Regions from separate parts of the Homo sapiens genome. Here region 2 is linked to region 1. The links are contacts of gene promoters, found by promoter capture Hi-C in human tissues and cell types (Jung and others, 2019). All regions are on one chromosome and are shown on one strand. Each heading gives the region's core, a stretch centred on a gene start or on the middle of the fragment in contact. The rest is flanking DNA. Distances are from core to core; before and after follow the strand shown.

Region 1 (3,498 bases), core at 261-2,760:
AGCAGGAAAATTCACATTGTTCTCCCTGGTAGCACCACTTCCAAGCACAAAAGTGATGGAGGCTGAAACGAAAAGGGAGTCCCATCCCCTTGGGGAAATGAACCATTTCTGTAGAAACCAAGGACCACTCTAGGCAGCCAACTTGGGCAGCACTGTTAGTAACCACATCACAGCAACCACCATGTGGGAACATCTGGGGACAGATAGACACTGGGTTGGGAGTATTATCACAGCAGCCCTGTGAGGAGGTACCACCCACCCCCCAACTCAGATGGGGAAACCAAGGCTAAGTCAGAATAATGGCTTGCTTAGATGGCAAGAGGTGGAATAAGTTGGGGAGCTTTATTTTGAGGCGTTTTTGCAACTTTCTCAGTCCCATTTTACTCATTGTTAGAAAACAATGGACAAAAGCTTCCAGAAAAGTAATCAGCCAGGATGCCTAGCAATGTAGCTGGACTCTTGGCAGACCTCTCAGGATTAGCTGGTTTAGAAGGAAGGCGGTTTTGTTGAGGCCTTTCTCTGCTCCCTCCACCCCTCCCCTCTCCGAATCAGGAATACTTGGTGCTCATGGAGTACAAGGGCTTCCAACTAAAATAAAATAGATAATAATTCAACATAAATGTCCCCTAAAGAACGATGGGAATGATGAAGGGTCGTTGAAGTTTGTTTCCAAGTGTGAGGGGCCGAACTACTAAGAAAGTGCTTTTCAATATAAATGTGATAAATCTGATCTCTTGACACGTTATTCTTGGTAGCCCTCCTCCCGTATAATATCCCAAAGGGGATGAACTGCCCCTTTGACGTGGGTTCTAACCTACAACTGTTTCATGAACACGCGCTCACTCGACCTGTCAGGACCTGTGTCCTCGGGACCCCCAGGCGGCACAGCTTCAGGGCTCACATTCCCCCCAGCCAGTCACTCTCCACTCGAAACTCCACAGAGTTCTTGGAATTTTCCTCGCTTGCTGCGAGGAGAATCCCAAGTGAGTCTGCTGTGTTGGAGCCATTAAAAAGCAGCCAAACTCTACAGATTTGAGGTAAGAGACACCGTAAAAAGGCAGAAAGAGCTAGTGGCGCGGACTTGTTTCTGGCTCATGAGTTGGCCTAGCGAGGCCCTTTCCCCTCTCTCGACCTCAGTTTCCCCTTCTGTAAAACAAAGGAGGTTCGGTAGCACTAAGGCGAGACAGCGAAGCTCCCCTCAGGCCTGACAAAAGGATGGTCTCCGGGCCCTGGAGCCTCCCTCTGAGAACGCGATTCACCCGGAGCGCGGGGGCGCCCGGGCGCGTCCGCAGGCTTCCCCGCCCGCCCGCACGCACCCCGGGCGATCCGCTCTCCGCCGCGCCCCCGCACCCAGCCCCGCCCCGGCGATTCCTCTCCCAGCCCCGGCGCGTGGAACCCCGCCCTCCCCTGAGTCCCCGAGCCTGGCGAGCGGAGGGCGGGGCGGGGCGGGGCACGCGGGAGGCGGAGCCGAGCCGGGGAATCCTGCTCTGGGATAGCACCCGGCCCCGCAGAGCAGCGCGGCAGCCCAAGGGCCCCGGCGCCGGGGGCGGCGGGGAACCCCAAACGCAACCGGGTCTGGAGGGATCCCCGCGCCGAGCCAGCCGCCGTCACCGCCTCCGCGCCGCCCCTGCGGGCTTGGCAGGCGCCCGGCGCGCCCGCACTGCGCCCGGCCGCCGGCTCCCGCGGTCCCACCGTGAGCTCGCCGGCCCGTCGCCCGCTCGCCATGCAACCGCCGCCGGCCTCGCGCGCGTAGGCGCCCGCCGCAGGCCATGCTGCCCCTGCTCGCCGCGCTCCTGGCCGCCGCCTGCCCGCTGCCGCCCGTCCGCGGCGGGGCCGCGGACGCGCCCGGCCTCCTCGGGGTGCCCTCCAATGCTTCAGTCAACGCGTCCTCCGCGGACGAGCCCATCGCCCCGCGGCTGCTGGCCTCGGCGGCCCCCGGGCCCCCCGAGCGCCCGGGCCCGGAGGAGGCGGCGGCGGCGGCGGCGCCGTGCAACATCAGCGTGCAGCGGCAGATGCTGAGCTCGCTGCTCGTGCGCTGGGGCCGCCCGCGGGGCTTCCAGTGCGACCTACTGCTCTTCTCCACCAACGCGCACGGCCGCGCTTTCTTCGCCGCCGCCTTCCACCGCGTCGGGCCGCCGCTGCTCATCGAGCACCTGGGGCTGGCGGCGGGCGGCGCGCAGCAGGACCTGCGCCTCTGCGTGGGCTGCGGCTGGGTGCGCGGTCGCCGCACCGGCCGCCTCCGGCCCGCCGCCGCCCCCAGCGCCGCCGCCGCCACCGCCGGGGCGCCCACCGCGCTGCCAGCCTACCCCGCGGCCGAGCCGCCCGGGCCGCTGTGGCTGCAGGGCGAGCCGCTGCATTTCTGCTGCCTAGACTTCAGCCTGGAGGAGCTGCAGGGCGAGCCGGGCTGGCGGCTGAACCGTAAGCCCATTGAGTCCACGCTGGTGGCCTGCTTCATGACCCTGGTCATCGTGGTGTGGAGCGTGGCCGCCCTCATCTGGCCGGTGCCCATCATCGCCGGCTTCCTGCCCAACGGCATGGAACAGCGCCGGACCACCGCCAGCACCACCGCAGCCACCCCCGCCGCAGTGCCCGCAGGGACCACCGCAGCCGCCGCCGCCGCCGCCGCTGCCGCCGCCGCCGCGGCCGTCACTTCGGGGGTGGCGACCAAGTGACCCGCTCCGCTCCTCCCTGTGTCCGTCCTGTGTCCGCGCGCGCGGGTGCCTTTCCCGCCGGAGACTCGGCCGGTGTGCTTCGTGCTGTAGTTATCGTTAGTTCCTCTTCCCGAGATGGGGCCGCCGAGAGACCCCAGCGCCTTTGAAAAGCAAGGTTTGTGCTGCGCTTCCAGTTCCGAAAAGCAGATGTTTAAGCCCTTGGACTGAGGGTGGGATCGCAGCTCCGAAGACGGAGAGGAGGGAAATGGGGCCCTTTCCCCTCTATTGCATCCCCCTGCCCGACTCCTTCCCCGCACCCACGTGCCCTAGATTCATGGCAGAAAATGACCAAATCCTGTGTATTTGTTTTATATATTTAATAACTGTTTTAAATGAAAGTTTTAGTAAAAAAAATACAAAACAAAAAGATTAAATTGCTATTGCTGTAGTAAGAGAAGCTCTTTGTATCTGAACATAGTTGTATTTGAAATTTGTGGTTTTTTAATTTATTTAAAATTGGGGGGAGGGCATGGGAAGGATTTAACACCGATATATTGTTACCGCTGAAAATGAACTTTATGAACCTTTTCCAAGTTGATCTATCCAGTGACGTGGCCTGGTGGGCGTTTCTTCTTGTACTTATGTGGTTTTTTGGCTTTTAATACAGACATTTTCCTCCAGAGATGTGTATGTAGCTTTTTCTTTATTTGATTTGGGAAAGGGAATCCCAGAATTGCAAGACGTTACCCTAAAACCTGAGCAAGGGAATCTCGGAAAAGTTAGAGAAGGGCTACTTCTGTCTCCTTTACCTGGCTGTGAGAGATAGATGGAAACAGTATTATTTGCC
Region 2 (3,498 bases), core at 707-3,206, 320 kb before region 1:
GTGGACCAAACAGTTGACGGTTTCAAGGGGGACACAGTCAAACTTCTCTCTCTGCTGACTGGCTCCAGAAGGGGGCGCTCTAGTGTGAGGACTTAGAAATTGGAGCCACATCTTGTCACATTAATCACTCTTTCTCGCTTAACATGGGTCAGTACAGTTCCAGACACAGGTGGGTATTCACCGAATATTGATTCAATGAGGGAAGGTGACCACGTGGCTCAGTTTCTGAAGTCATGCTTCCAAATCCTCAATCCCATTGCTCCGAAATCTACACACACATTACTTTCACTAGCTCTTATTTTTCACTTGGAAAATATAGTCACAGTCTTAGGAAAAGTTACTAGGAATAATTTCTCAAGTTTCAACCAAAGCACATTATCAAATGTCCCCTAATCACCCACTTCATTTTTTCAGTTTTGCAGAACTTGGTGGCATTTTTATTGTCTGCATTAGCCTAGGTCACAGGGAGAGGACGAATAAAACACAAAGTCCTGGCATATTATGAAATACTGTTTTGAAAGCGTGAGGCTCCATGCTGCAGCGTTTTAAAGCGTTCTGAAGCTGGGGAACTAAGTGTGTGGTGTGAAGGACTGTGGCCCCCCTGCCCTGGTGTTTCTGAGCCATTAGAAGCTGCCTTCTTGCAAGGCCACATGCTTGGCTGGACTGAGACCCTGGAAGAGACCTCCCAACTGTCACCCAAGAGCCATGCCCCTAGTGAAGTCCTGGGGTCCCCAACAGGGAATTCTCAGGACATGCAGTTATTAGTGAATCATGTCTTTCCTCCTATGGAAGAGCAGCCCAGGGCAACATCTCCTCTGGGCCACCACCTACAGAGGGGGTGCTGGGTGAGGGGGAGCATGGTGCTCTCATGTGGGGAGATTCAGGTTTGACTCTTAGGCCTGGTCTTACAAGCTGTGGGATCTTGAGCTTAGTTTTTTTTTTTTTTTTCCTTAAGGACAGAATTCTCCAGATTCTGGAGTGAATAACCTGTGTAAAGGGACCAGCTCACTAAGCTGCACTCCCTCTGCCTTTGTCAAGAGTGCTGGCCAGGATAGGAGCTGGCTGTGGGATGTCCTCTTTGACGCATGGCCTCAGCACAACAATGACCCATTTCTAAACCTTCGAGCTTCCTGTGCTTTGCTGGAGCCGGGCAGGCTGGTCCTAAGTCATCACTGGTGACAGCCTGTCCAAGGGACCTGAGTCATTCTTGTCCACAGCTGGGGCTTTGGGGGCAGGGCATGTGATCTCTGAATGTGGCCATCGTGCTCTGAGTCTTTCCCTTGCTGCCTCGGGCACCCTCACACGGTTCTGGCTCCCCAGGCCTCCCCTGAGTTGCCTTACCAAGGCAGTCCCTTCAGGGTGAGTAGGTGCCAATCATGCTCCCCCTGTCTCTGGCATAAAGCGCCAATGAGATGGGCAGAGAAGTCAGGTTGGGACTCAACACTGAGCCTGAGCTTCAAGGGCCCAAAGAGGAAGAAGCACATTGACATCACTTCAAAAAGAGGCTGCTATGCTGTGGGGCTCTTGCACCTCCATCTTTGGAGAAGGCCTAAGCATGACTCTCCTGGACTTTTCTGACACCTGCCGGACAGGGCCCAGGCCACAGGTGTTCCTCCCACTCGAATCCATCACCTGTCCCCATCATGAGGGTAGCCTTGCGATGGCTAATAACAGTACAAGCTTCCATTTGCTGAGCTCTCACTCTGTGCCAAGCATTGAACTATGCAATTCACTTGTATGAACCTGTGAGTCGATGCATGAATATCCCATCCCATTTTACAGATAGGGAAGCTGAGGCACATGAAGTGAAGTCACTTGTCCACCTAGGCTCCACCCCAGGCAGTGGAAGAGACGGGATGACCTGACACAGCCCCTCTCTCTCCTGCTCACACACCCTGGTAGCCCCCTGTCCTCTGAGGGGTGTCTGGCCTCTGAGGAGGGGACACTCCCTACCTTTAGCTTTGTCTCCAGCACTGCCCTATGCCCTCTGCTCCAGTACCTCCCTGGCTCAGCCCGGGTCTCTGTGGGCCTGCCCCCCTATGTTTGTTCCTGGTATTGCGACACCCTTCTCTCCACTGGGGAGAGGCTGCTCCTCTTTCAAAGCCAAAGCTGCCTGTCCTTTTCCTCATAACGTATTTTCTGATTCTCCAACTGCCAGAAGTGGCAACGCTGATGCTAGCAGCAGTCACCATTCAGAGTAGATTCTGGACTAGCTGTGTGACCTTCAGTGAGTTATTTAGCTCCATCCTGCCACCATTTCCTTGCCTGTAAGATAGGGTTAGTCACACATCTGCCTGTCTGTGAATGGGGATAACAACAAGCCTGCCTCACAGGGCCACTGTGCTTAGTAAATAAGCTCACACCTGGGAAGTTCTAGGGCAGAGCGTGGCCCTGGGTCGGCGCTCACTCTGTATTAAGAGGATTTTGTCATTAGTGCATCCAGAAGCAGGCTAAGCACTTCCTGGCATTATCCTACCTAATTCTCTCAATAGCCGGATAAGGCAGGCACTGTGTGTGCCTCCATTTTATAACTCAGGAAACTGAGGCTTAGAGGTGTTAAATATGTTGTAAAACTGAGACTTATACCCAGGATGGCCTGACTTCCGAGCCCTTACATAAACTGTGTGTGACAGCTCATGTGCCCCCAGACCTTTGTTCCAAGGTGACAAGGCGGTAGCTCTTGTCTCTGTATCCCTGGTGTGGGCAGAGCCCAGCATGTCACAGGCACAAAGAACATGGGCACAATTGAACTGAATGACATCGAACTGCGCTTGCAGCCTGTTTCTGGCCAGGACACAAAGTGAGATCACATGGAGCGAGAACCCAGGCCTTCACAGAAGTCCTTGCTGCTGGCACGGTGCTGACCCAGCCTGGGTTCTCAAGCTGGGTGTACCTGCAGGGAGTCTTACACATGCTTTTCATTTTAGGTTTGCATTTCAATGATTATCTAAAATTATTTTTACCAACGATCAAAACTCAATTTCTTTTCTGCAGTGGTAATTTAAGATAGATATTTTCATAGACTAAAGCCCTCTCTTTTTCTTAAGTTAGCATTTCTCAACCGGGCTGAGGACAAGTTCTCAGGGATGCATGAGCTATTTATTTCTCATAAACATTACTCAAATTAAATAAATTTCTGGGCTGGGGCTGGGTGCGGTGGCTCCTGCCTGTAATCCCAGCACTTTGGGAGGCTGAGGTGGGCAGATCACTTGAGGTCAGGAGTTTGAAACCAGCCTGGCCAACATGGTGAAACTCCATCTCTACTAAAAATACAAAAATTAGCTGGGCATGGTAGCACATGCCTGTAATCTCAGCTACTTGGGAGGCTGAGGCAGGAGAATTGCTGTAAGTGGAGGTTGTAGTGAGCCAAGATTGTGCCACTGCACTCCAGCCTGGACAACAGAGTGAGAGAGACTCTGTCTCACCAAAAAAAAAAATAAAAAAATAAAAAAAAAAAATTCTGGGTTGGGTGTGGTGGCTCATGTCTGTAATCCCAGC

The links. Contacts are between HindIII fragments. The study calls those that stand out against the background at their distance.
Region 2: a fragment that was not itself captured here is called in contact with the fragment with the promoter of TMEM158 in region 1 in 3 of the 25 tissues and cell types used here (H1 embryonic stem cells, hippocampus and lymphoblastoid cells).

The regions. Positions count from the first base shown.
Region 1 is chr3:45,224,299-45,227,796 of GRCh38, reverse strand. It overlaps TMEM158 (transmembrane protein 158), which reads left to right and starts at 1,510. Exons shown (of 1, transcript NM_015444.3): 1 at 1,510-3,331. The coding sequence starts at 1,770. The coding sequence ends at 2,672. RefSeq lists silencers at 1,264-1,603, 1,614-1,683. The HindIII fragment of the contact is 8,880 bases long and covers 1-3,498 here.
Region 2 is chr3:45,543,411-45,546,908 of GRCh38, reverse strand. All of the region lies in intron 21 of LARS2 (leucyl-tRNA synthetase 2, mitochondrial), which reads right to left. Among named protein-coding and RNA genes, the nearest start is that of LARS2-AS1, 36 kb to the right of the region's middle. RefSeq lists an enhancer at 1,018-1,312 and silencers at 1,699-1,909, 2,702-2,928. The HindIII fragment of the contact is 7,069 bases long and covers 1-3,498 here.